Linked DNA regions of Homo sapiens: all the other regions are linked to region 3. Evidence: promoter capture Hi-C in 16 types of primary human blood cells and fetal thymus (Javierre and others, 2016). All regions are on one chromosome and are shown on one strand. Each heading gives the region's core, a stretch centred on a gene start or on the middle of the fragment in contact. The rest is flanking DNA. Distances are from core to core; before and after follow the strand shown.

What was found. The method cuts DNA at HindIII sites, captures the fragments that hold promoters and counts their contacts. A CHiCAGO score of 5 or more calls a contact.
Region 1: a contact is called between a fragment that was not itself captured here and the fragment with the promoter of USP13 in region 3, in 2 of 17 cell types (neutrophils and activated CD4 T cells). The highest score is 8.2, in neutrophils.
Region 2: a fragment that was not itself captured here is called in contact with the fragment with the promoter of USP13 in region 3 in 1 of 17 cell types (M2 macrophages); the score reaches 5.1 in M2 macrophages.
Region 4: a fragment that was not itself captured here is called in contact with the fragment with the promoter of USP13 in region 3 in 2 of 17 cell types (total B cells and total CD8 T cells); the score reaches 6.4 in total B cells.
Region 5: a contact is called between a fragment that was not itself captured here and the fragment with the promoter of USP13 in region 3, in 3 of 17 cell types (naive CD8 T cells, activated CD4 T cells and monocytes). The highest score is 6.8, in naive CD8 T cells.
Region 6: a fragment that was not itself captured here is called in contact with the fragment with the promoter of USP13 in region 3 in 4 of 17 cell types (naive CD8 T cells, M1 macrophages, total CD8 T cells and 1 more); the score reaches 5.9 in naive CD8 T cells.

The regions. Positions count from the first base shown.
Region 1 is chr3:179,030,165-179,034,906 of GRCh38, forward strand. ZMAT3 (zinc finger matrin-type 3) reads right to left here. Exons shown (of 6, transcript NM_022470.4): 3 at 716-835. Among named protein-coding and RNA genes, the nearest start is that of ZMAT3, 39 kb to the right of the region's middle. The HindIII fragment of the contact is 8,661 bases long and covers 1-4,742 here.
Region 2 is chr3:180,584,564-180,588,944 of GRCh38, forward strand. It overlaps TTC14-DT (TTC14 divergent transcript), which reads right to left. Exons shown (of 3, transcript NR_183700.1): 2 at 1-94. Among named protein-coding and RNA genes, the nearest start is that of TTC14-DT, 15 kb to the right of the region's middle. The HindIII fragment of the contact is 4,154 bases long and covers 414-4,381 here.
Region 3 is chr3:179,651,350-179,656,282 of GRCh38, forward strand. It overlaps USP13 (ubiquitin specific peptidase 13), which reads left to right and starts at 1,691. Exons shown (of 21, transcript NM_003940.3): 1 at 1,691-2,044. The coding sequence starts at 1,877. RefSeq lists silencers at 1,423-1,502, 1,513-1,852 and an enhancer at 1,521-2,164. The HindIII fragment of the contact is 8,280 bases long and covers 1,230-4,933 here.
Region 4 is chr3:179,010,485-179,015,512 of GRCh38, forward strand. No RefSeq gene overlaps it. Among named protein-coding and RNA genes, the nearest start is that of ZMAT3, 59 kb to the right of the region's middle. The HindIII fragment of the contact is 730 bases long and covers 2,649-3,378 here.
Region 5 is chr3:179,066,873-179,071,222 of GRCh38, forward strand. It overlaps ZMAT3 (zinc finger matrin-type 3), which reads right to left. Exons shown (of 6, transcript NM_022470.4): 2 at 611-937. The coding sequence starts at 880. Among named protein-coding and RNA genes, the nearest start is that of ZMAT3, 2.8 kb to the right of the region's middle. The HindIII fragment of the contact is 3,964 bases long and covers 1-3,926 here.
Region 6 is chr3:180,621,228-180,625,794 of GRCh38, forward strand. The region is part of intron 14 of CCDC39 (coiled-coil domain 39 molecular ruler complex subunit); the gene reads right to left. Among named protein-coding and RNA genes, the nearest start is that of TTC14, 21 kb to the left of the region's middle. The HindIII fragment of the contact is 4,519 bases long and covers 1-3,510 here.

The DNA.
Region 1 (4,742 bases), core at 2,158-4,657, 620 kb before region 3:
TCAAAACATGTTTACACAGGCTCTCTGAATAGAGGTAAGTAATAAGCAATCTCAAACACCTAATTTTGCAACTGGAAGGCAAAATCTGAAATAAATGGGATGAACTGCAATAAAGGAACACATGTTTGAAAATCTCTCTTTTCATTTTGGGGTTAGCCTAGACATTCAGGATCATTTAGCCCAGAATTTCTTTTTTTTTTTTTTTTTTGAGATGGAGTCTCGCACTGTTGCCCAGGCTGGAGTGCAGTGGTGCAATCTCAGCTCACTGCAAGCTCCGCCTCCCGGGTTCGCACCTTTCTCCTGCCTCAGCCTCCCGAGCAGCTGGGACTACAGGTGCCCGCCACCACGCCTGGCTAATTTTCTGTATTTTTAATTGGGACAGGGTTTCACCGTGTTAGCCATGATGGTCTCGATCTCTTGACCTCGTGATTCGCCCGTCTCGGCCTCCCAAAGTGCTGGGATTACAGGCATGAGTGACCGCACCTGGCCTATTTAGCCCAGAATTTTAAGAAATGTATAAAGACTCACGTAACAATAGCCTGCATTAAATCCAGCACTGTAGTTCAAGGAGTTAAAAGTACCAAGCAGCATCTTTCAGGATTATTTTCCCAACTGTACCCTAATGGACACATGGACGACAAATGTCATCTATAACCATTTGTGCATATTACAGCTTCCACCCTAATGCTGCTTCACCCTGACACACATGTCTCACCTGCGGAGGGACTGGAACAACTGGAGTAGCTGCAGGCTCGACCACATTGCTCATTCTAGCAGGAGGAGGACAGCTATTTGCTGCATAGTAATTTCGGAGTTTCTTACCATGATTTTTACCCTAGAAATAAAAATAAAATGAGTACAGCAGTCCACCCTTATCTGCAGTTTCAGCAATTTCAGTTAGCTATGGTCAACTGTGGTCCAAAAATATTAAGATATTTTGAGAGAGAGACCACATTCACATAATTTCCATGACAGTATATTTTTATAATTGTTCTTTTTTCTAATTAATTATTGTTGTTATTCTCTTACTAGCCCAATTTATAAATTAAACTTTCTCCTGGGTTATGTATGTACAGGAAAAAAAAAAAACGCATATAGAAGAGTTCAGAAATATCACGGTTTTAGGCTTCTACTAGAGGTCTTGATATCTCCTATGGATAAAAAAAAATGAAAACTGTAATCACCATGAGAAAGTGTGTCAAACTGAGTTAATCAATGTATTTACTTAATCACTTAAAAAAAAAAAGAAAAAAACACAATACTAACTACATTTTATTCCTTCACACATACACAACCCTGGGGGTAAACAGACTACTATAGTGCTAGATTTGATTGCTAGATCTTGAAGTAAAAGAGCCTACTCTTTGGCTCTAACAGAACAATTAAATTTTTCTGGGAAAGACAAGAGAACACAGCCAAAGGAAATTAATTTCCTGTATGTTTCTTAAAAAGTATCACATTGGCTGGGTGCGGTGGCTCATGCCTGTATCTCAGCACTTTGGGAGGCCAAGGAGGGTGGATGACCTGAGGTCAGGAGTTCGAGACCAGCCTGACCAACATGGTGAAACCCCATCTCTACTAAAAATACAAAAATTAGCTGAGCATGGTGGCACATGCCTGTAATCCCAGCTACTCGGGAGGCTGAGGCAGGAGAACCACTTTAACCTGGGAGGCGGAGGTTGCAGTGAGCGGAAATCACACCACTGCACTCCAGCCTGGGTGACAAAGTTAGATTCTGTCTCAAATAAAAAAAAAAAAAACTCTCCCTCTCCCTCCCCCTCCCCCTCCCCCTCCCCCTCCTCCTCCCCCTCCCCCTCCTCCTCCCCCTCCTCCTCCCCCTCCCCCTCCTCCTCCCCCTCCCCCTCCACACAGCCTCCCTCTGATGCTGATCCGAGGCTGGACTGCTTGCCGCCATCTCGGCTCACTGCAACCTCCCTGCCTGATTCTCCTGCCTCAGCCTGCCGAGTGCCTGCGATTGCAGGTGTGCGCCGCCACGCCTGACTGGTTTTCGTATTTTCTGGTGGAGACGGGGTTTCGCCGTGTTGGCCGGGCTGGTCTCCAGCTCCTGACCGCGAGTGATCTGCCAGCCTCGGCCTCCCGAGGTGCCGGGATTGCAGACAGAGTCTCGCTCACTCAGTGCTCAATGTTGCCCAGGCTGGACTGCAGTGGCGTGATCTCGGCTTGCTACAACCTCCACCTCCCAGCCGCCTGCCTTGGTCTCCCAAAGTGCCAACAGTGCAGCCTCTGCCCGGCCGCCACCCCGTCTAGGAAGTGAGGAGCGTCTCTGCCTGGCCGCCCATCGTCTGGGATGTGAGGAGCCCCTCTGCCCGGCCGCCCAGTCTGGGAAGTGAGGAGCGCCTCTTCCCGGCCATCATCCCGTCTGGGAAGTGAGGTGCGTCTCTGCCCGGCCACCCATCGTCTGGGATGTGGGGAGCACCTCTGCCCCGCCGCCCCGTCTGAGATGTGAAGAGCACCTCTGCCCGGCCGCGACCCCGTCTGGGAACTGAGGAGTGTGTCTGCCCCACCACCACCCCATCTGGGAGGTGAGGAGCGTCTCTGACCAGCCACCCTGTCTGAGAAGTGAGGAGCCCCTCTGCCCCGCAGCCGCCCCGTCTGGGAAGTGAGGAGCCCCTCCACCCAGCAGCCACCCCATCTGGGAAGTGAGGAGCGTCTCCGCCCGGCAGCCACCCCATCCAGGAGGTGGGGGGCAGCCCCCGCCCGGCCGCTACACCGTCTGGGAGGTGGGGGGGCGTCTCTGCCCGGCCGCCCCGTCTGGGAATTGAGGAGCCTCTCTGCCCGGCCGCCACCCCATCTGGGAGGTGTACCCAACAGCTCATTGAGAACGGGCCACGATGACGATGGCGGTTTTGTCGAATAGAAAAGGGGGAAGTGTGGGGAAAGGAAAGAGAGATCAGATTGTTACTGTGTCTGTGTAGAAAGAAGTAGACATAGGAGACTCCATTTTGTTCTGTACTAAGAAAAATTCTTCTGCCTTGGGCTGCTGTTAATCTATAACCTTACCCCCAACCCCGTGCTCTCTGAAACATGTGCTGTGTCCACTAAGGGTTAAATGGATTAAGGGCGGTGCAAGATGTGCTTTGTTAAACAGATGCTTGAAGGCAGCATACTCGTTAAGAGTCATCACCACTCCCTAATCTCAAGTACCCAGAGACACAAACACTGCGGAAGGCGGAAGGCGGCAGGGCCCTCTGCCTAGGAAAACCAGAGACCTCTGTTCACGTGTTTATCTGCTGACCTTCCCTCCACTATTGTCCTATGACCCTGCCAAATCCCCCTCTCCGAGAAACACCCAAGAATGATCAATAAATACTAAAAAAATTTTAAAAAAAAGGAAAGAAAGAAAAGAAAAGAAAAGAATATGGGATTTTAGGAAAAAAAAAAAAGAAGTATCACATTTTCCAGTGACTTATGTCCTCACCCAACTTCTTGCCATTTATATGCCACAGATAAATATGAATTTCATGACACTCTGATCTAATGTACTTTATAAGTTAGTAATGAAATGGATAATCCAATTATTCTTTTAAAATTGCCCTTACAGAGTATCTTTTTACTTACAAAGGATGTTCATTGCATTTATTCATTTGCTGCTCACAAAAATCTTGTAAGAGGAATTTGTTAATATTGTCCATTTATGACAGCCAAGGAACTGCAATCCAGAGACTGTAAGGAGCTTGCCCCCAGCTCCCTTCTCAAGGGCTAAATAGCACAGCCAAAGCCTGAGACAGGCCTTCCAAATCAAAGAATGGCCCTTTTCCACTACAGCATGATGGCTTCAAGATGCACTAGGAACCTCTACTAACATCAACTTGCCTTTCTCATCACGTTTTATTAGTCACATGATTATATTCCTTGAACTGACACAAACTAGTGGCAAGGGTCAATAGTACAAAAGCATTCTAAATAAGGGTAAAACAGTATATTATTCTTTAAACTGCATTGTAAAACTCAAACCTGCAGGCAAACATTTATTCACCATCTATTTATATGCTAAGCCCTAGAAATAAACTAAGGACTAGCACATAGAGGAGGAGACAGATACCTAAGCAGCTAAATAGAGTAATGAACTAAGATCCATCTTCTCCTCACTTCAATACCCTAAAGGTGCTTTTACCATGGTCACAGTGAACTCCAGAGTCAAATCCAGTGGTCACATATGTGCCTTCATCTTACTGGAACTCAAAGTAGCATGACACAGTTCATTTCCTTCTTGAAACATTCCTCCTACTATCATCTATACTCCTTCTTCCCTCCCCACCTCTCCTCCTCTATCAGACCTCTAAACTCTACAATGTCCAAGGACGCACCCTTAGCCCTCTTTTATTCTCTGACTCTAGGTTATTCTACCCAGACCTATAGCTTTCAAATACCATGAGTAAGTTGGTGACTCCCCAAATCATCAATCTCCATCTTTGACCTTCAGAACCACATATCCAGCTTCCTCCTGGTCATCCATACTTTCACGTCTTAAGAGGCATATCCAACTTAAAACAACTTTTGATTCCTCCTCCATAGAACTTTCTCATCACCACCATCACCACCACCACTAGTCATCCACAGTAGGTAAATGGCACCACCATCCACAAAATTACCCAAGAAAAGCCAAGGGGTCCTTTTCCTGATTCCATCCTTCCCTAAGCCCAACACATTCAACCCATCAGCAAGTCTTGTCATTCAAAATACATCCCACATCACTCCACTTCTCTCCATGGATACTACAA
Region 2 (4,381 bases), core at 1,241-3,740, 930 kb after region 3:
AGTCCCAGCTACTCAGGAGGGTGAGGCAGGAGAATCGCTTGAACTCGGGAGGTGGAGGTTGCAGTGAGCCAAGATCGTGCCACTGCACTCAAGCCTGGGCAACAGAGCAAGACTCTGTCAAAAAAAAAAAAAACAAAAACAAAAACCAACAACAACAAAAAAACCAAAAAAATTTAAGTATCCCTAAATTAGATAGCATTTTATAATAAAATCTTGTATAAATTTAAGTTCACGTCCCAAAGAAATTATAGTATGATGAGGTAACAATGGTAGAGCTGCTGTATTTTAACCAGGTATACTACTACATGAACTTGCAACCCACAGTGAATTTTTCCAAGTGAGTGGCAAGGAACTATTAGAACTGAGCTTAGATGTGTATTTTCCTTAAATCGTCCTGATGTTTAGAGAAGAAAAGCTTTAACCAAGTAGACATAGTATTCCGTTCTCTCAGATCACACTGATAGGGTAGATGGAGATTTTTATTGCAGCTGTGTATGTGCAGATAAGACAAAGTGAAGTATGCAAGTATTTAATCATCACATCTTTAAAATGATACAGAAGATCATTTCTTTTTAGCTGTCTATGATGCTTTTTTTACCTTTCCTTTCAATAAGATAGCTACATATTACTTTGTAAATTGCTTTCCTACACAAAGTGCATTAGCTTCACACGAATTCGTTGGCTGGTTTCATACTTCTCTACAGAAATAAGTACATTTCTAAACTTATTCACTAATGAATCTAAAGCTACATGTTTAGAAAAGCAATTGGGGAGCAGGATATCATTTTATTTCAGCCTGTTTAACAAGAAACAAACTGAGATGTACCAAAATGAAACAAACTGAGATGTACCAAAATAAATAGTGCACTTAGCACTATTTAAGATTGCCTTCTTTTTGCCCTCTTTCTCTTCCCTAGTTGTTGCTGGGATGGGAGCCTTAACTAAATGCCACCATGCCATCCTGATAGAGGTTGTGTACTTTGAATTTTAACTGGTCTCGTTCTTAGGAGCTGGTATCTTTGGAGATCATGTCTCCCCACTGTTTTGATAATCTACTGAGATGTGGCAGCATTTTCTTCTGATCTTCCCACGTCTTCCCTAGGGGTTTCCTCATCCTGGCTGAGGAAACGAATAGGTCTCCTCCAAGTCTGTTGAGTTCCCCTTTCTCACCTATATTCTGTGCCCTTTCTTTCTTGTGGACACAGAGAAACATTCACTGCTTTTTTCCATACCTCTTGGACTCCACAGTATCCCAGGGTTGTCAGCAGGTATTCATTGTTCTAAAGCATCCCTTATGCATTTTCTGATTCATTTCTTTCAAGTCGCCACAGCATGGTAAACCTCGGCAAGCCTACTAGAGCTCCAGAGAGAAGGTGTAAGACACAGAGACTAGACCCATCAGAGGAAGACGGGGAGAAGAAATTTACCTCTACTGTCTTCCTTCCTTGTACTTGCACCAGAATTTATTCCAAGGCAGAAACCGAGAGAAAAAAACAATGCCTAAGTTATTTTTCCTTTCTTCCATCTCCATTCCTACTTTTTTTTTTTTTTTTTAAGACAGATTCTTGCTCTGTTGCCAGGCTGGAGTGCAGTGGCGTGATCTCGGCTCACTGCACCCTCCTCCTCCTAGGTTCAAGCGATTCTCCTGCCTCAGCCTCCTGAGTAGCTGGGACTACAGGCGCACGCCACCACACCCAGCTAAATTTTTGTATTTTTAGTAGAGATGGGGTTTCACCATGTTGGCCAGGATGGTCTCAATCTCTTGACTTCAAGATCCGCCAACCTCGAACTCCCAAAGTGCTGGAATTACAAGCGTGAGCCACCGCACCCAGCCTTAATTTTTATACATATTATAATAGCTCTTTAAAAGTCCAAGTCCATTAATTTTGCCTGTTTGTAGAACTGTTTCTATTAATGGATTTTTTAAACCTGGTTAGGGATCACATTTTCATGGGTTTTTTTGCATGTCTAGTAACTTTTGATATCTATATATATATTGGATATGTTGAATTGCATTGTCTATTTTGAAACTTCCTTTTCAACTTTGTTAAGAAGGGTCTAGAAGAGATTTTACTATAAGGCTAGTTTTAGCCCTTCTTCTTAGGACTAAAACCAAAAAGGGGTATGGCCTTTTGGGGATCTCTAATGAATTGCCTGAGTGTTCCACAGGGTCTTTCCACCCTACTTGTTCAGCCCTGTGAAATTCTGATACTTGTTCAGCTTATAGCTTCCCAGTAGTTGCTCTTTCCCTGGTCATTGTTCTTTGGTCTTGTGGAGTCTCACCCTATATTTGTGCAGATTAGTAAGCAAATACTCAAAAGGAACCTATGCAGATTTCTGGAGTTCTTTCCCTGCTTGGTTCTCTCCTCTTTGGTCTTCTACCCATAAATTTCAGCTGTTTGTGCCTCTCCAAACTCTAATATCTGTCTCATCATCTCAGCAAGGCTGCTATGCTCTGTCTGGGTTTCACCTCTCTGCACCTTTGCCCAATAAGTGCCTCTAACCAGAAAACTCGACAATAATAACAGTTATCTAGTTTATTTTTTTTTTCGCTCAGACAGTGAAACCCTTCATGACCTGTTGTCCGATATCTGAAAGCAGTTGTTTCATATAATTTTGTTTCCTTTCTGTGGCAGGGGATTTGTTAATGGCGGAAGGGTTAGTCTTGTACCAGTTACTCAGTCATAGTTGCAATCAGGAGTCAAGGCTTTTGATTTTCTTCATGTATACTATTATTGACAGTCCCTAAAACAATAGTTACCCTTCTATGGTAAGTGCCCAACTGAGAAAAGGATCACCATTTAATCACGCAGACCAGGAAAAAAAATCAATAATTCCTAAGTCATGCCACCATACCTTATCCCCAGTTGCCATGCGTCTGCAAACCAGATTTGTCAAATTTTATTACTACTGCAATGACTTTAATCCAGGTATGTGACGTGGTAAGATAGGGCTGGAAGACTGATTGGCAATACAGGACAAAAGATAACTTACTGGAACAGAGGAAGAAGATGGGTACAGGAGCTAGAAATGACTTCCAGAAGAAAAAAAAAGGAACTAAATACTGTTCTTTTCTAATTAAACTGAAAAGAGTTCCTTAGGGAGCTGGTATTTGATCACTTCATGGTCTCTGGGAAAATAAAACATAGTGTGTGGAAAAGAGTAAATGGATGCTAAAGTGAGGAAGATCTAAAAGAATTTTCATCCCTCCCTCCAAGACCTAAGATGTGACATGGTAGGGCTAGCCTTAGAGAGGAAGCATGTCATATGCCCCAAGTGAACATGAGTCTTGCATGGATCTTAGAGAAACTGAAATGAACACCTATGATAGAGTTTTAGGAAAACTGAAAGCTGCATACAACCTAAATGGACAAGTATGCCAAAAATATCACATATGAGTTCTCAGAACAGATAAGGCATCAATGTTTGAAAAAGACAAACAGTTTTGTAAAAGACAGACTTCCAAGAAAAATCTCAGCAGCAATATGCTGTCAATCCACTTAGTATTATCTATATAAAACATATTTTTGTTTAATCATTTTTAATATAATCTATCATAAGAAAATCTGTATCCCAGTTCAACTCTCTTGCTTCCATGAACGCTGGGAAAAGAGTTTATGTAAACCAAGACTATTCCGTAAAACAAATATCCTAGTAAATGGTACAGAAATTTCACTGATACAGTTTGCACAACACTAGCTCCAAGGGTCCTACAGAGACTACTTTGTTATGCAATTTAGAAAATGAGTTATCTTTAATTCAGCCTGAAATAAAAGGTAATGGCAATGGCTTAGAAATATTTTAATTATACAGATATAGTCAAGGTGATGATATTTATTATTGTGAAATTATACTATTTTATTGTGAATTTTTTTCTTCCCTACATCTTTAAATCATAAAAGGGTACTAGATATTTTATTCTGTGGAGCTGATGGAAGCTATAAAAAACAGAATACTTTTCCTTTCATATCCAAGTCCATAGGTTTAGAATTAAGGAACATTTCTCAGGATGAAAGCAAAACATCAGCAATAACCACTCACACTATCTTTTTTCAACTGGGATTTTTCTATGATTTGTTCATTACTGAATTCCCAGCACCTACAGCTATTTGGAACAAGGAGATAGTCAAATAAACGTTAGGTGAATTTCTGAGTTACAATTCTCATATTGATGCTTGTCACTACGATTCCAATGAAAATGGATACAATAAATTCTGGATTATTGGCTAATAAAAAGTCTCAGGAAAAAAATAATAAAAACATAGCCAAACAACTTTCCTAACATAACGGTGTTTCTTTTGTTTGTTAGAAGTGAAATGTGGCCACAGAAATAGACATGAAATGGGTAACAGCAAAAATCTAGGCTGCCACAATTAGGAAT
Region 3 (4,933 bases), core at 441-2,940:
GTACTGTATTTTAACCACTTTCTACAGAAGGATCTTTAGGTTTTCCCCAGACGTTTGTTACTCGAAACAGTGCTCTAACAAATATCTTTACACAGCCTTAATTTATCTGTTGCATAAATGTCTAGACAAGGAAATGCTGGGGAAAACAGTATGCACATATAAAGTTATGACTGGTATTATTACATTTCCTTCCAAAGAGGTTTATCGTTTTTATCCCCACCAACAATGTAATGAGGGTCTACTTCCCAAACCCATGCTAACTCAATATATCTTTACCAGCCCAAAGGATGAAAAACAGTGTCTCACTGATTTAATTTGTATTTAATCTAAGATTAAATTTTAAGTTTTGTAAAACCAAGTTTATCTCTGTAATTGGAGAAAACATCATCCATTAACGTGAAAGGTAATAAGCTGATGAGACTAAATTCAAAGCAAAAGCTCGCTGAGAGGATCTGCCCAATGAGGAAGATGACAGTAGTGTCTGATTTTTTGCTCAGTGCCACCTCCTCCTTTTCCAACAGATAGCATTTGGGAGTGCTGAGTTATAAGAAAGTGTGGTGCGCTCGAGGCTTGCTTGAGGGTATGGAAATCTTGAGATAGGTCTGGAGAACCAGGGAGAGTTAAAAGAGAAAAAAAGTAAGAAAAAAAAAAGAACTTAAGGACTATCTGATCTGAGAGAGGCTTACAAAAATTAGCGTTTTGGTTCACTATTTCTCGCTATTTCTGCATTTCATTAACTGGCAGGGATCACTGGATACTCTGTCATGAATACATATGTTGGGTGTAGTTAGAGAACCTCAATGTCATTGAACCCGTCTTGTGGGTTTTTTGGAGAGAATGAGAGTATGCTGGGAGACATGCTCTGCTTGCAAATGATCAACCCCCGAGGCCAACCCCATTCATCATTTATTTTGAGGAACTGATGATCAAGACAGGAATATGTATGCCTGCCTACAAAATCCTCAAATCAGGCCACTGAATGTTCGACATGAGAACTTTGAATCACATAGAAGATACTCCAAAGGCAGAGAAAAATAGAAAGCCTTCCGACGCCCTGAAAAAATCTTGACCATCCCTGACTTCCCCCAATATGTAAGAAAACCTGTATTATTATTACACACACACTCCCACACACACCCCGCCCTCCCCCACACACACACCCTCTATCCTCACTCGATCTTATTCTATTCGCTCTATTTTTGAGCCTTGGATGTTAAAGTAAGGAACGAAGCTTAGTGGGGAAGCACTGAAGTGCATGGCGCAAATTTAGATTTAAGCCTCACGTTAGATTTCAGATTTGCACATCGAGTCCCGCCCCTATCCAATCCGGGGACGTCACCGCCCTAGTCTTCGGCTGTTTTAAAAGCAAGCGGTTTTTAAAACCCCCAATCCTGCTCTTTGTGTTGGCCTCCTCGGAGTTGCCCCTCTGCAAGCCAACAATTCGGGATAGAAAACACCTCCGTGGTGTTTTCCCGGGGCCCTCCCGCGCCGCGTTCGGCCGCCAGCCCGCTCGAGCTCCCGCGCCAACGCCTCAGGGGTTCGCCCTCCGCCCCCCGCCGCCGCGCCCGGCCCACGCGCAGGGCCCCTCTCCAGCGCCCCCTCCCCGGCACGCTGCGGCTGGCGCTCCCCAGCCCCGCCTGACGCTGCAGCTGGGCCGGAGACTCGCCATTGGATTAAAAATAGCGTCGCCAGTCCGCCCCAAGCCCGCGGTGCCCGCTCCCGCCCCGCAGCCCGCTCTCCCCGCCCGCCCCGGCTCGGCCGGCTGCCGTTGCCCGCGCAGCCCGCCCGTCAGCCCGCTCGCTGGCGCCGCCGCCGCCGGCAGACCCCGCGCTCCGGCTCCGGCTCGGCTCGCTCGGCTCCGGTGCGCGCCGAGGCCATGCAGCGCCGGGGCGCCCTGTTCGGCATGCCGGGCGGCAGCGGAGGCAGGAAGATGGCTGCAGGAGACATCGGCGAGCTGCTAGTGCCCCACATGCCCACGATCCGCGTGCCCAGGTCCGGCGACAGGGTCTACAAGAACGAGTGCGCCTTCTCCTACGACTCTCCCGTAAGTGAGGCGCCTCGGGGGAGGGTCGCGGGGCCGGCGGCCTGCGGCACGTGAAGCCGGGGGAGAAGATGCGCAGTGGCGGCCGGGACCTCTTCTCTTCCTCCGGGCGGCAGAGTTGGCTCAGGAACACTGCAGTTCGGCAGACACTTAGTGAGCGCCCCAGGGCTGCTGCAGCCGAGGACTGGCTCGTGCTGGTGGTTTTGCTCCGCCAGCCTCCCCAGGCTGGAAGGGCCCGATTCCCAGCAGCTTGCACACAGCCCCGCCGCCGTTTAAAGATAGATGAAATACAAGAGTTCCCTGTTCCGAACTGCACGTTGCAGATCGTTTGCGTCCTCCGCGGGGCAGAGCGCAGGGCGGGTAGGTGGACGGGATGATCCCCCCACACCCCGGGACACACACAGCCCTTCTTTTTCTGGGACCACTTGCTTTGCTCAGGGATCCCCACTTCTGGACAATTCTGATTTGCTCTCTGAGCTTTTCTTCCACCAGTTCCCATTTCACCCCACTCCTTTTCTTGTCTTTAGAATGTCAGGGCCAGGCGCGGTGGCTCACGTCTGAAATCCTAGCACTTTTTAAGAGGCGGAGGCGGGCGGATCGTTTGAGGTCAGGAGTTCGAGACCAGCCTGGCTAATATGGCGAAACCCCATCTCTACTAAAAAAGAACCCCAAAATTAGCCGGGCGCGGTGGCGGGAGCCTGTAGTCCCAGCTACTCGGGAGGCTGAGGCTTGAGAATCGCTTGAACCGGGAAGGAGGAGGCTGTAGTGGGCCGAGATCGCGCCACTGCCCTCCAGCCTGGGCGACAGAGCGAGACTCCGTCTCAAAAAAAAAAAAAAAAAAATGTCAGACGAAACCTTCCGGTGCCTCCACTCGGGCAGCAGAAATAGGGGATCTACTGGATTGCGATGGTTTTCTTAAGCCTTCCCCACCTTGCCCTTCTAAATGAGTCACTTGGACTGACATGCGCAAGTATAAATTATTAAAAGTTCAATCCCGAGTCGTGACCTCGGAGAATGAGGAGGAAGCTGAGAGGGATCGCCGCCTTCCACCCGGGGCGGTTGGTGGTGGTTTTCACCTGGTTCTATGTGAATGTGTGAGAAGCAGCAGGAGGGTGAATGTCCCTTTCAAAAGTCAAAATGGGCTTCAAAGTGACTCAGCTGTCTGGCGTTTATCATGTCTTTTTGAGGACCAGGTTATTTTTATCCACCCACTTTAGATCTCATATGTCACCCGGCAGATCTCAATGCATTGGGAGGCGCATGGATTGGATGGACCGAGGCAGGTCTCGCAATGGTCTAATGTATTTTATTCATAGCATGTGGACTATTGTCAGAGGGGAAAAGAAAAGTCCAAATGAGCGGCAACATTTCCAAAGTTTCCTTTATTATCTGTGGGTTGATTTTGGCTGGCTTCAAAGCACTTTTGCTCGACACACACTGGAGTATCAGAGTTAGTATCCTCTCTGTGACATTTAGTTTTTTTATTTATGGTAACTCCATATCATTTGAGGGATGAAACCTAACTTAATTTTTGATTGTTTACTTTTTTTTTCTTTCGAAAAGATCCACAGAGTGGAGTGTGACAATCGGCAGTCCTTTTTTAGGATGTTATCCATAAATTATTTGAAAATGCCATTTTCAGATTGTATGGCCAGTGTTGGGCAGTTCCCACTAATAGCTTCTAAAGGTGGAGAGGGATGATGGTCCTAACTTAAGCAATTGACAGATTGTTACCTCCAGGAAGAAGAAAGTGGCCTAAGTTTTTTAGGATAGCACAACATGGAAAGTGGGTCAAATGACTTTCCCCATGTTTTGATTTGGGCTCTTCTTCAAGTTCTGCTTACAAACTTTGCTCTTGGAAGTTTTTGCTGCATAATGCAGTGGATAACAGGTGTGGGAAAAAAGGCTGATTGTTTTAATTCATTTCCACAAATAGTTATTGGGAGCTTACTGTGTGTGTTTCTAGAATGTTACTATTCTAGAAACATCTCGTCCAGTGTAGACTGATGATTGCAATCATATCACAGCAGTTCCTTAGGGGAGACTGGGATTATTTACAAGGCTGATGAATCAGTATATTTCATTATCTATGTTTCAGGGGAGGAAGGGAAGGTTTGATAATATTTATCTTAAAGCACAGTGCGTGATAATGGGAAGGTTTTTTTTGTTTTGTTTTGTTTTTTTTTTGAGTTTTGCTCTTGTTGCCCAGGCTGGAGTGCAATGGCACAATCTCAGCTCACTGCAACCTCTGCCTCCTGGATTCAAGTGATTCTCCTGCCTCAGCCTGCCAAGTAGCTGGGATTACAGGCGTGTGCCACCACACCTGGCTAGTTTTGTATTTTTAGTAGAGGTGGGTTTCGCCATGTTGGTTAGGCTGCTCTCGAACTCCTGACCTCAAGTGATCCACTCACCTTGGCCTCCCAAAGTGCCAGGATTACAGGCGTGAGCCACTGCACCCAGCCAGTATTTTGTTATGGTATGTAACACTATACTATGAATCCAATAAGGGATTCTTCAGCACCTACTATGTGCCATCTCATACATGCATGACTGTAAGGAGCATAAAGAGCAAAATCCATTGGTGCTAAACACGCCAGAAACTTTAATCCACAAGTGCCACGGGATGTCTTAGGGAAAAGGCCAAAACCAGCTGAGTGGAAAAAAGAAATCATCCCTGCATTGGTTACTGTTGAAAAAGGTTATGTACAAAGATGGCTAGAAAATAAGGGAGATCAACATTCAAGGCCAGGGAAATTATATGTGCAAAGAAGATACAACGTGTGAATATTTCCCACTAATTTGCCTGTAATGTATTTGGAATAAAAAGATACATTTGGCAAGTAGCAAGAAGTGAGGTAGAACCAAGTAGAGAGTAGATGATGGGGGCCTTGA
Region 4 (5,028 bases), core at 1,764-4,263, 640 kb before region 3:
ATTAATAACCAGAATATATAAGGAGCTCAAACAACTCTACAGGAAAAAAATCTAATAATCTGATTTAAAATAAGCAAGAGATTTGAACAAACATTTCTCAAAAGAAGAAACACAAATGACAAACAGGCATATGAAAAGGTGTTCAATATCATTGATTATCAGAGAAATGCAAATCAAAACTACAGTGAGATATCATCTTACCCCAGTTAAAATGGCTTATATAGAAAAGACAGGCAATAACAAATGCCAGTGAGGATTTGGAGAAAAGGAAACGCTCATACCCTGTTGGTGGGAAAGTAAATTAGTAAAACCACTTTGAAGAAGTTTTGAGATTCCTCAAAAAACTAAAAATTCAGCTACCATGCAATCCAGCAATCCCATTGCTGGGCATATACCCAAAAGAAAGGAAATCAGTATATCAAGGAGATATCTGTACTCCCATATTTGTTGTAGCACTGTTCACCATAGCCAAAATTTGGAAGCACCCTAAGTGTCCATCAATAGATGAATGCATAAAGAAAATGTGATACCTATACATAATGGAGTACTCTGCAGCCACAAAAAAGAATGAGATTCTATTATTTGCAACAACAAAGGATGGAATTGGAGGTCAATATATTAAGTGAAATAAGCCAGGCACAGAAAGATAAATGCATGTTCTCACTTATTTATGAGATCTAAAAATCAAAACAATTGAACTCATGGAGATAGAGTGTAGACTGATGGTTACCAGAGGCTGGGAAGGGTAGTGAGGGGAGGGGAGGAAGTGGGGATGGTTAATGGGTACAAAAAAGTAGTTAGAAAGAGTGAATAAGACCTAGTATTTGATAGCATACCAGGTTGACTATAGTTAATAATAATTTACCTGTACGTTTTAAAATAACTAAAAGAGTATAATTGGATTGTTTGTAATACAAAGGACGAATGCTTGAGGGGATGGATACCCAATTTTCCATGATGTGATTATTATGCATTGCATGCCTGTACCAAAATATCTCATGTACCCCATGTATACACCTATGTACCCACAAAAACTAAAAAAAAAAAAAAAAAAAACTACAACCCAGGAAAATCTGCCAGATTGCCACTGCCTGTCTGTTTCAACTGAAGATGTTTCTAACCCAAATCTGGCCATCTTCTCAACTGACTGCCCTCCAGACTCTAAAGAAACTAATTTATAGGCTGTTCCAAATGTTAACGTTATTTTTCTCTGTTTTCATAGAAATGTCTCTTATCAAAGATGTTTGGCCTAACTTTGAGAGCCCATCTGCAATGCCACCTGTTGCAATGGGAAACAACAGTTTAACTGATGTAGTATCACAACTAAGAGACGGATTCAAGAAGATATGGCATGACATACTTATATTTGTTCTTTTCTGCTTATCCCAATTTGTTTTGCTCCCTCTTATCTCAAAACTTCTAACCCAAATCTCTCCATAGCTACCAATCCTACTTTAATAAGTGACACTTCTGTGTTTTTTTTTTTTTTTTGAGACAGGGTCTCTCTCTGTCACTCAGGATAGAGTGGCACAACCTCAGGTCACTGCAACCTCCCCCTCAAGGCTCAAGTGATCCTCCAACCTCCCCCTCAAGGCTCAAGTGATCCTCCCACCTCAGCCTCCTGAATAGCTGGGACTACAGGCACGTGCCACCATGGCTAGCTAATTATTTTTTTTTTTTCTGTAGAGATGGGCTTTTGCCATATTTCCCAGGCTGATCTCAAACTCCTGGGCTCAAGCGATCCACCCACCTCAGCCTCCTGAAGTGTTGAGATTACAGGCATGAGCCACTGCGCCCAAACATTAATAAGCGAAACGTTCTAAAGTTTCAAGTGGGGGACTAAAGGAAACTAAGAAATGTTTCACTCCAAAATATACTTCTTTGACATATTTTGAGATGACTATTCAGAGGGCCTGCAACACAAGAATCAGCCTGCAAAGCTGAGTCTTTTACGGGGATTTGCATCTCTAGAGGAAATAAAGTGAAGTAAACAACAGATGCAAACAGGCTTTTTCTGAAGCCCCACCTTGTCCAGAACAAGGCAAGATTAACTGAGAGCCTGACACCTTTAAAGGTTTTATAGAAACATCTACCACAGGCTCCCATCTCTTTTTTTTTTTTTTTTTTTTTTTTGAGATGGAGTCTTGCTCTGTCGCCCAGGCTAGAGTGCAGTGGTGTGCTCTCAGCTCACTGCAACCTCCGCCTCCCGGGTTCAAGCTATTCTCCTGCCTCAGCCTCCCAAGTAGCTGGGACTATAAGCACCCGCTACCACACCCAGCTAATTTTGTATTTTTAGTAGAGACGGGGTTTCACCATGTTGTCCAGGCTGGTCTCGAACTCCTGACCTCAGGTGATCCACTTGCCTTGGTCTCCCAAAGTGCTGGGATTACAGGCATGAGCCACCGTACCTGGCCTCCCATTTTTCCTTTCTGAGGGCTGCTACCTGTGAGATCATCTGCATAACAAGACCACCTTTGCAGCACACCTTGCCTCTTCTCTCCTTCCCATAACCTCTCATGCCACCATAACCTGTCTTGACAAGCTTCAAGCCCCTATTCTTTCTGTAACCTCAAGATAGTATTAAAGAGTTGTGAATGGAAAATAAAATTTTGGGACCCCCTATTCACCATACCTAAGGGAAAAAGTCAAGCTTGAGAACTGAGTCACACAAAACTGCCTCCCATTTTGTTCCTCAACAGCTACAAAGATGAAAGACTACCTACATACCTCCCTCGCAATTTGCTCACGAGCAAATTTTTTGTGGGCCCTCAAGATCCTTACCCTAAAACAGTTCTGTTGAATTTCACCCTGACAATAACAAACAATTTATCTTCAGAAGAACGGGACAAAGGATAGAACCAGAAGTCATACCTCTGCTCACCTGAGACAAATGCATATTTGACTGCTTCCTCTATTCTGTTTACTTATCTTATGTAAAAACGTAGATTCACTGAGCATGAGACAAATGCCTCTACCCTCTCCTTTCACATGTAAAATGTGGATCCACTGAACGCTGATGAAATCTTCAAAAGATTGCAACTTCTTGCCTCTTTCATCTACACTTCTTTTCTCTCCTGCCCATGTTTTCCCCTTTAAATATGGAAGCACTCAAAATCCTCTTTGGAAAAAAAGTGTGGGCCACAGATTCTATTGTGGCTAGTGGCTTTTTTTCCTGGGTGTATCATCAACCTTGGCAAAATAACTCTCAGTTGATTGAGATCTGTCTCAGATACTTTTTGGTTTACAGCATCAGCTGTCTGGACATTTGAGTTTTTCATATTTTGTATGACTCCCATGCCCATATGTACATTAATAAATCTGTATGCCTTTTTTCCTGTTAATCCATGGTCAGTTTGTTTTACAGACTCAAATTATCAAAGCTTCAGTGAAAAAAATTAAACTTTTATACACTTTGCATATATAAAATAATTTATAATTTTCCAAGTCTTCAGCTATGTACACCTATGGTCACAGTAGCATTATTCACAATAGCTAAAAGGTAGAAGCAACGTAAGTGTCCATCAGTGGATGAATAAACAAAATGTCATCGATACATGCAATGGGATATTATTCAGCCTTAAAAAGGAAGGAAAGTTGATAAATGCTTGAGGTGATAAGATACCCCAATTACCCTGATTTGATCATTACACATTGAATGTTTGTATCAAAATGACACATGTACCCCATAAATACGTACAATATTATATATCCCTAATTAAAAATAATTTTTAAAAATGAAGGAAATTCTGATACATACTACGACATGGATGAACCTTGAGGACATTATGCCAAGTGAAATACGCCAGACACAAAAGGACAATTGTCATATGATTCCACTTATATGAGGTACCTCAAGTAGTCAAAATCATAGAGACAGAAAGTAGAATGGTGGTTACCAGGGACTGGGGAAGAGAGAATGTGGAGTTATTGTTTAATGAGTAAAATTTCCGTTTGGGAAGATAAAAAATTTCTGGAGATGGAGAGTGATTATGATTGTAAACTAAATGGTTAAAATGGTAAATTTTATATGTTTTGCTATTTTTAAGGGTTTAATTTTTTTAAATTATTATTACATAAATGTCCATCAATAGAGGATCAATAACAGAAATTTTAGAAATCATACAAGGAAACACCACAGAATGAAAAACAATGAAATAGATCCACATGTGCTGGTATGGAATGCTTGCCAAGGTCACACACACACACACACACATACACACACACACACATACCCCAAGGTGATGAACAGAACAGTAGGGATGGAATGCCTCCATTCACGTTACATAGACTTTATCTGGAAAAGACTCAAGAAACTGCTAACCGCGATCAATTGCCGCTGGGCAGGGGGGACATGGCAGCATGGAGTTCAGGAGTGAGTTCAGGACTTATGTATTTCGAAAAAAAAAAACAATTCTTTTTGAAAACAGCAATCTTCTAAATTATCCATAGTACTGAAAGAGAGGAATAAAGAAGAAATAACTAGATCCACCCCTAATACCCCAGTTATGGGGATCTGAATTTCAAGAGGTCAAGTGACAAGCCAGGGAACACACTGGTGACAGAACTGAGACCAGTTACCCAGTATGTACTTTTTCTGAATGTTTGAAATATTTAATAAAACTACTTTTTTAAAAAAGTCTCTTTCTTCATTGCTAGCTTATTAAAGCAGAAAATATTGTTTTCCCCAAAAATAAACTATGTTTGGGAAAATTTTAATATTTTATAGTTTAATTTTTATGTCAGCAAGATTTCCATGTTTGGTAACATTTGCCCTTGTATATAATTGTGTTTTTAAATTTTCAAGTCTTCTTTGATGAAAGATTTTTCTAGTCCTTTACTTCCTGGTTGGGGCCTTCATTGACCATTATTTTAATTTCCATGTTTGTTGTTGTTCACATAACCGAATATGTAGAGAACAGATTTTTTTAAACAAAATAGACGTTTTTAAATAATCACAAAAAATGAGACATTCACACATGCCTGTGCATATATATCTATCCATACATATATATGGATCCTGATTTCCAA
Region 5 (4,350 bases), core at 695-3,194, 580 kb before region 3:
TGGGCTAAAATAAATCAGAGTATGTTTATTATGAATGAAGGATAGGGCTCAATATTGCAATGTCATTTTATTCTCACCACAAAAAGATACCTGTGTTTTCCTTACCAGTGATAGGATATATAAGAGTTAGAAGTCAAAAATGGAAAGCATAAGAGTCATGCACAGAGGTCACCTCGAAATGATGCAAATTATATTAGCTTCTAAACAATTTTACACTGAATTGAGTTCGGTACATCATGGGTTTTTTTGTTTGTCTGAGACAAAGTCTCGCTCTGTCACCCAGGCTGGTAAATAGTGGTTTAAATACTTGTTCTTCTTAAGACTACAGGTTCAGATGCCAGCATAGATCATTTACATTTGCCTACAAAGACTGGTAAGCTATCGCATGCCACACAGCTTAGTGTAACAGGTTGAGATCCAGTCTACAAAAAGTGATACTTATTTTTAAAGTAAAAACATAAGGCTTTTAATCAAACAAATTCATAGTTAGTTGTTCTCTAAGCCATCTTGGTATTCCAGGCACAGTCATATCTGGAGAGACAACTGCTAAATAGCCAGAGCCCTGAAATGTTCACCCTACTCAATGCCTGGTTTTCTTTTCTCCCTTTACCTGATAATGAGCCTGGGCTTGCTGTGCAGAGTTCAAGGTGACATTGCAGAGTTTGCAGTACAGGGGCTTACATAGCTCCTCCAGGGCACAGTCTTGCTCCCCTCCCTTCGATAACTCTTCTTCCCCTGCAAGAGGCAAGGAAGCCTCCTGCCCAAAAGGCTTCTGTGGTGGAAGCTGCAAGGTTCCTGTAGACCTGGTGGCCACTGACATAGGAGGCGAGGGTGAGGGCTGCTTAGGTGGAGGAAGCACGGCGTGTTGCAAGAGGATCATTGGGTAGGGAAGCCTGGGGCATAATCCAGTGGGTGATGAGAAGCAAGGTCTTCAAATCTGAATCAACAGCAAAAAAACAGAAAAAAAAACTCACTTGAAAATCAGACTTCAGCAAGATAACATGTAAATGACAACATAATCTGACCCTTTCTTCTACTTCTCCAAACCCATCTTTGGGACTTCTTTCCTTTGGCCTCATTTAGCAGACTTCCCCTGCCTGTTAATTCATGTTAACACGGTGCTCTTCCACTGAGAATGGCTTTATAGATTTGGCTTTATTTTGCTTGGCACAGTTCCAACTGCTATCCCTTTGGCCCGTGAACATTAACAGCATTGCATCCACGGCTAAATCTAAAAGTCACATGGCTGAAATGGACATCAAATGTCACCTAGTCCAGACCCCTTCCCTCAGGCACACTTACACTTAAACACTCTTAATGATAATCATGCACAGACAAAAACACCACGAGCTGTCCAGGTGTGGTGGCTCACGCCTGTAATCCCAGCATTTTGGGAGGCCAAGGTGGGCAGATCACCTGAGGTCAGGAGTTCGAGACCAGCCTGTTCAAGACAACATGGTGAAACCCCGTCTCTACTAAAAATACAAAAATTAGCCAGGTGTGGTGGCGAGTGCCTGTAATCCCAGCTACTCAGGAGGCTGAGGCAGGAGAATCGCTTGAACCGGGGAGGCAGAGGTGGTCGTGAGCCGAGATCGTGCCATTGCACTCCAGCCTGGGTGACAGAGCAAGACTGTGACTCAAAAAAAAAAAAGACCACCAGCTAAAAATCTTAGCAAACATATCTTCCAACCAACCAATATCAAAAAGAGTGTATAAAAGAATATCATCTTGCAGAATTCTTAAAGCACTTATAGAACTAGCTAAAATTTCAGGGAACTCTAGGAGTAGCCTAAAGTATGACAGAAATAAATAAAATATGTTCCTTCTGATCAACTAGCAATATTTAAGTAGTTGAGCAAATGTATAGCAGAGGTGGCAAACAGCCTGTGGGCCACATACAGCCACAGATGTGCTGTTTGGAATATACAGTTTTGTTTTCATTTTTTTAAGTCGAATTAGTTGTTAGCATTTAAAAATCAAGAGATTCATGGCTTCTCTTGAAAAAGGATGATCTGGCATCACTTGGCCCACATTCCTATATGGGACGCAATTAGCTAGTTAGTGCTCAGAGGCACTGTGCCCTCTAGCGAGGCCTGCCTTCTCTGGGACACCTCAGTCCCCACTCAGCTGCTGCCTGTACTTGTTACTTGCCTGTTCTCTGTGAGCTCTTGAGTTTACAGCCCTGCCTCATACAGCCTTAGATTATATTCATCAGCCCCTGTAAAACCCAAATTTTTCCTCCTTCTCTAGGTAAATTACCTACACAAAATAAGGTATCAAGGAAATGTCCAATGGAGTAATGGATCACACCACCATAAGCCACAGTATAATTCCAGTTCCTCAATCTTGAGGCTATTTCCCTCCTCCTTCTTAACAAATAACTGATAGTCTCTATTATAATTCCCTCAGAAAAGACCCAAAATGTTCCTCTCCCTCTTCAATCTTTATCCATAATGTCTCCTGCCTCCCCCCCAGATGGCGCCGTCTAACCCTGAGTGTCTCAAAATGAACCACAGTACACCCTTTGAGTTCCCAAGATTCTAATTAACCCAAATTAGAATCCTTATTTCAAAATCCACAATTCCCTCCACTCTCTCAATACAGTATTATTAAAACCTCTTCTCTTGGTCAATAGAATATGGCTATTTTAAGCTGCTGAAATTTTCCATCTGCAATGGAAATGTGTACATTATGGCAATAATAGAATTACTAAAATGAATCAAGTAAATTTTGAAAAGTTAAAGTCTATTTTACCATATTTGATAACTACACAGCACCTGAAAATCAAGTAACAACTTTCAGACGAAATTTGGGGTGGGGAGGCAACAAAGGAAATCAGCGTGATGGGAAAATAATGTAGTTAAGGACAAAGTGCATAAGTATTAGTCATAGAATTTAACAATACTTCTCATTAATCACAAAATTTAGAAAAATGATAATATTATTTAATTTTTAAGCAGAAGTGTACTGCCCATATCTCTGGGAACATAAAAGAAAAGCAATATAGAGTTTTAACATTTAAAAAGTCAGGTTCTCTGTAATGGTATTATTTCTCTTAATTGAATCAAGCAAAGATAGTCCAGAAAGCAAAGACAGATATGGTCATTTTAGAAAACGGAACTAAGTAGACAAAGAACAGCTTTTAAAAAGTTTAACTACCTAATAATAATAATTCATAATGTTGAAAAGCTACTGATGTCAAATTGCCACAAACATTCTGCTAGTTCATTAGTGAAAAGGTGGGGGGGGGTGTCAAAACCTCTGGATAAAGGAAATCAGCAATATAAACAGAAAATCAAATGCTACCAATTGCCTAGGCATGTCTGGACTTGTTTTATGAAAGCTCACTTTCACTTGAGGAAATTCTAGCATGTGTCTCCCCCAGTGTTATCTACAGGTTTCCCTCAAAATAAAGATCCTTCTCAAAGAACAGAGGCACAAAAGGCCTCCTACCAGAGGTGACAGTTACCTGATTTAAAGAAAAAATTCTTGCCAAACACAGATTTACCCATTATCACATTTGATCTTTACAATTTTTAAAGAGTAGCTTGATATCCCAAATTTATTTCTTGTTATATTTAACAATCAACACAATGTCGACTCCTCAAAAAAATCTATGTATGACAATTGCATCAAATATTAGTACATTTGCAAACAAAAATTAGTATAAAATATAAATCTTAAAATGAATAAAACCAAGTCTTCAGTGAATGCATGAATGATGGAATACAGAGACCCAAAACATGCAACTCAGATCTGTTCAACTGTTGCATTGGTTTAAAAGGGACTAATTTGAAGACTGGCATAAATATTCTTCAAATCTTAAAAACCAGTCACTTTGATGCTTGCGATGGCATAAATGAAGGATTTATGCTGGTTAATGTCCTGGTTTGGAAAGGAGCTAAGACGACATTAAAGAAAATCAAAGCTTCACAAGGTACCCTGTTTAAAGAAAATTAATTGTCATAGCATACTTAGTTTTAATGATTGGACTGGGGCCTACTCTTCACATACTGTGTTAAAGACAATCTCTTGTCTCATTTGGAGAAATCTACAGAGGAAAGAGAATAGAATAAAGGAACAGGTTAGGAGCACCTCAGCAAACTAGGTAAGTCTGTAATTGGGAATTCTGGAAATGAGGGAAAGGCAGCGAGCATTACTCAGAGGTCATCAGAACGCAGCAAGAAGGAATGAGAGGGAGAAAAGTTAAAAAAAATAATAATAATAATCACTTGAGGCAAGGTGTATCCTATAAAGAAGGCTCAAAAGAACGCAGAAAACTGGGGAAGAGGCCTTGGTGAATTGGCGAATGTTTTTCAGTCTCCGCTGTGACGGTTCCTAATCCTAGAG
Region 6 (4,567 bases), core at 1-2,500, 970 kb after region 3:
GGAGTGGAGGTATCTTTTTGATTTAATGATTTCTATTCTTTTGTGTAGATACCAGGTAGTAGGACTGCTGGATCAAAAGGTAGTTCTATTTTTAGTTACCTGAGAAACCATTCTGTTTTCCATAGAGGTTGTGTTAATTTACATTCCCACCAACAGTGTATAACCATTCATTTTTCTCCATATCCACACCAACATCTCTTGTTTTCTGTCTTTCTAATGGCCATTCTGATTGTTGGCTTTAATTTACATTTCTCTAATGATTAATGATGATGAGCATTTTTTCATATTCTTCTTGGCCATTTGTTTGTCTTCTTTTGAAAAATGCCTACTCATGTCCTTAGCCCACTTTTTTTTCTTCCAACTTTTAGGTTCAAGGGCTACATGTGCAGGATTGTTACATGGGTAAATTGTGTGTCATGGAGGTTTGGTGTACAGATTTTTTTGTCACACAGGTAATAAGCATACTTTCCCCAGTGTATGTTCTTGTCAGTTTTGTCCAAGATCAGTTAGCTGTATGTGGGTCTATTTCTGGGTTCTCTTTTCTGTACCATTGATCTTTGTGTCTCATTTTATACCAGTACCATTGATGTTTTGGTTACTATAGCCTTGTGATATAATTTGAAGTCAGATGATGTAATCCCTCCAGCTTTGTTCTTTTTGCTTAGGATTACTTTGGTTATTTGGATTTTTGTGTTGCATGTGAATTTTAGGATTGTTCTAATTCTGTGAAAAATGAAATTGGTATTTTGATAGGGGTTGCATTGAATCTGTAGATTCCTTTGGGCACCATGGTCATTTTACCAATATTAATTCTTCCAATCCATGAGCATGTAATGTTTTTACCTTTGTGTCATCTATAATTTCTTTCATCAGTGTTTTGTAGTTTTCCTTATGGAGCTCTTTTACCTCCTTGGTTAAATACATTTCTAGGTACTGTTTTTGTATCTGTTATAAATGGAATTGCCTTCTTCATTTGGTTCTCAGCTATATCATTATTAGTGTTTAGAAATGCTATGGATTTTTGTACCTTGATTTTGTATCCCGAAACTGCTGAATTCATTTATCCAATCTAAGATTTTTTTTGGTGGAGTTCTTAGGGCTTTCTAGATGTAAGATCATATCATGTGAACACAGATAATTTAACTTCCTCTTTTCCTATTTGAAAGACTTTCATTTATTTCTCTTGCCTGATTGCTGTGGTTAGGACTTCCAGTACTATGTTTAATAGGAGTGGTGAAAGTGGGCATCCTTGTCTTGTTCTAATTCTTACGGGAAATGCCTTCAGCTCTTTCCCCATTCGATACGATGTTGGCTGTGGGTTTGTCATAGATGGCATCTATTATTTTGAGGTATGTTCCCTCTATGCCTGGTTTATGGAGGGTTTTGTCATGAAGGAATGCTGAATTTTATCACATTGCTTTATCTGCATCTATTGAGATGATTATATGATTTTTGTCTTTAATTGTGTTTATGTGATGTATCATGTTTATTAAGTTGCATATACTAAACCATCCTTTCATCCCTGGCATAAAACCCCCTTCATCATGGTGTATTATCTTCCTGATGTGCTGTTGGACTCAATTTGCTAGTATTTTGCTGGAGATTTTTGTGTCTGTGGTCTATGTTCATCAGGAATATTGATTTATCGTTTTCTTTTTTGTGTTGTGTCCTTGTCTGGTTTTGGTATCAGTGTGATACTGGCCTTATAGAATGAGTTAGGGAGCATTCCCTCCTCCTCAATATTTTGGAACAGTTTCAGGAGGATTTGTATTAGTTCTTCTTTGTATGCTTGGTAGAATTTAGCTGTTACTACATCTTACCCTGGGCTTTTTTGTTGTTGTTTGGAGATTTTTATTATTATTATTATTATTATTATTATTATTATTATGGATTCATTCTTGCTATTTATATTATCGGTTTATTCGGGATTTTTGTTTCTTCCTGGTTCAACCTTGGGAGGGTGTATTATATGTTTCCAGAAATTTATCTGTTTCCAGGAATCCATTTACTCTAGGTTTTCTAATTTATAAGTTAGTATAGTCCCTGATGATCTTTCATATTTCTGTAGTTCAGTTGTAATGTCTCCTTTTTGTTTTCCGATTTTGTTTGCTTGGATCTCTGTTCTTGATTAGCTAGCAGTTTATCAATTTTGTTTGTCATTTGAGGAACAAAGTTTTAATTTCCTTGATCATTTGTAAATTTTTTTGTCTCTATTTCATTTAGTTTTGCTTCTGATCTGTTATTGCTTTTGTTCTGCTAACTTTGGTTTGGTTTTGTTTTTTTTCTTGTTTTGCTAATTCCTTGAGGTGCAGTGTTAGGTTGTTAATTGATGATCTTTCTACATTTTTGATATAGGCATTTAATGCTATAAACATCCCCCTTAGCATTCCTTTTGCTCTATCCCACAGGTTTTGGTATGTTGTGTATCCATTTTCATTCATTTCAAAAATTTTTTTAAATTTCCATCCTGATTTCTTTGTTAACCCAGTGATCATTTAGGAGCATATTGTTTAATTTCCATATATCTGTAAAGTGCCCAAAGTTTTCTGAGCATTGATTGCCGGTTTTTCACTCCACTGTGGTCTGAGAAGATTTTTTTTTTTATTTTTTTTGAGACTTGTTTTCTGGCTTGTCTTGGAGATGTTCCATGTGCTTATGAAAAGAAGGTATATTATGCAGTCGTTGGGTAGAATGTTCTGTAGATGTCTGTTAACGTCCATTTGGTCTAAAGCCCGATTTAAGTCCAGTGTTTCTTTGTTGATTTTCTGTCTTGATAATCTGCCTAGTGCTGTCAGTGGGGTGTTGACCCACCATTATTGTCTTGCTCTTTCTTTATTTCAATCTGGTAATGCTTGTTTTATGAATCTAGGTGCTGCAGTGTTGTGCATATATAATTAGGATTGTTATATCCTCTTGCAGAAGTAATCCCTTTATCATTATATAATAACCTTCTTTGTCTTCTTTTACTGTTTTGATTTAATATCTCTTTTATCTAATATAAGTAAAGCTACTCCTACTTGCTTTTGGTTTCCATGGAATGTCTTTTTCCACCCCTTTACTTTCAGTATATATGTCTTTTCCAATAAGGTGAGTTTCATATAAGCAGCATATTGTTGGATCACATTTTTTATCCATTCCACCATCTATATGTTTTAATTGGGTCGTTTGATCCATTTACATTCAAACTTATATTGATATGTATGATTTTGTTCCTGTCATATTTTCAACTGTTACCTAGTTGGTTTATAAATTATTTCTTTTTTTTCTCTGTGTGGTCGTCTGTGTTTTGGTAGAATTCTGTTATGTTGCCAGTGATGCCTTTCTCTTCCTCTTTTGTGTGTTTGTTTTATAAGACCTTTGAGTCCTGTACTTTTGTGTGTTTTCACGATGGTGAATACTGACATTTTGTTTCCATTTTAAAACTCCTTTGAGCATTTCTTAGAGGACCAGTCTAGTGGTGAAGAATTCCCTTAGTGTTTGCTTTGCTGGGTATTTCTTCTTCCTTTATGAAGCTTATTCTTGCTGGATATAAAATTGGGGGCTGACAGGTGTTTTTTGGTTTTATTTTGTTCTGTTTTTGTTTTTGTTTTCCTTTTAGTGCTTTGAAAATTCTGTCCCATTCTTTTCTGTCCTATAAGATTTCTGCTGAGAAGTCTGCTGTTATTCTGATGGGGTTTCCTTTATAGGTGACTAGATGCTTTTCTCTTGCTAATTTTAACTTTTCTCTTGCAGTTTCACTTTGACTTTAGACATTCTGATTACAATACACCATGATGAGGTATTGTTTTGAAATGTATTTTCCTGGGGATTGCTGGGCCTCTTGTGTCTCGGCGTCTAACTCTCTTACTAGACTTGAGATGTTTTCATCAATTATTTCCTTAAATGGGCTTTCTAAACTTATTTCTCTCTCTTACCCCTCAGGCATAACTGATAATTTGTAAGTTCAGTCACTTTACTAGTTCCAAACATCTTGAAGGCCTTGTTCACTCTTTTTTATTCTTTTTTTTTTAATTTGTCTGACTGGATTATTTTAAAAGACCTGTCTTCAAGGTCTGAGATTCTCTCTGTTGCTTGTCTAGTCTGTTATTGACTCTTTCTTTTGCTTGTGTAGTCTATTTTTCTTTTTTTTTTTTTTTAAGATATCTCCTTGGTGAATTTTTTGCTCATACCCTGAATTGATTTCTGATTTCTTTATATTGGTTTTCAGATTTCTCTTGCATCTAATTGAGCTTCTATCAATATTTTGAATTTTTCATCTGGCATTTCAAGGATTTCTTTTTGAGTGGGATCTATTGCTGAACAGTTGTTATATGGTGGGTCACATTTCCTTGCTTTTTCATGGTTCCTGTGTCCTTCCATTGATAGATGCATATCTCATGTAACAGTTGCTTCTGCTAATTTTTTGAAATTGCTTTCCTAGGAGAGGATTTTCTCCTGAAGAAGTACATATGTAGTTGGTGTTTTGATGTGGGGTGCCTGTGGTAGTGTGGTCTTTGTATGATTTCTTAGGCAGTACACAGGTTCAGTGGTATCTGTGATTTCCTCAGTGACTTAAGGTATGGTTATT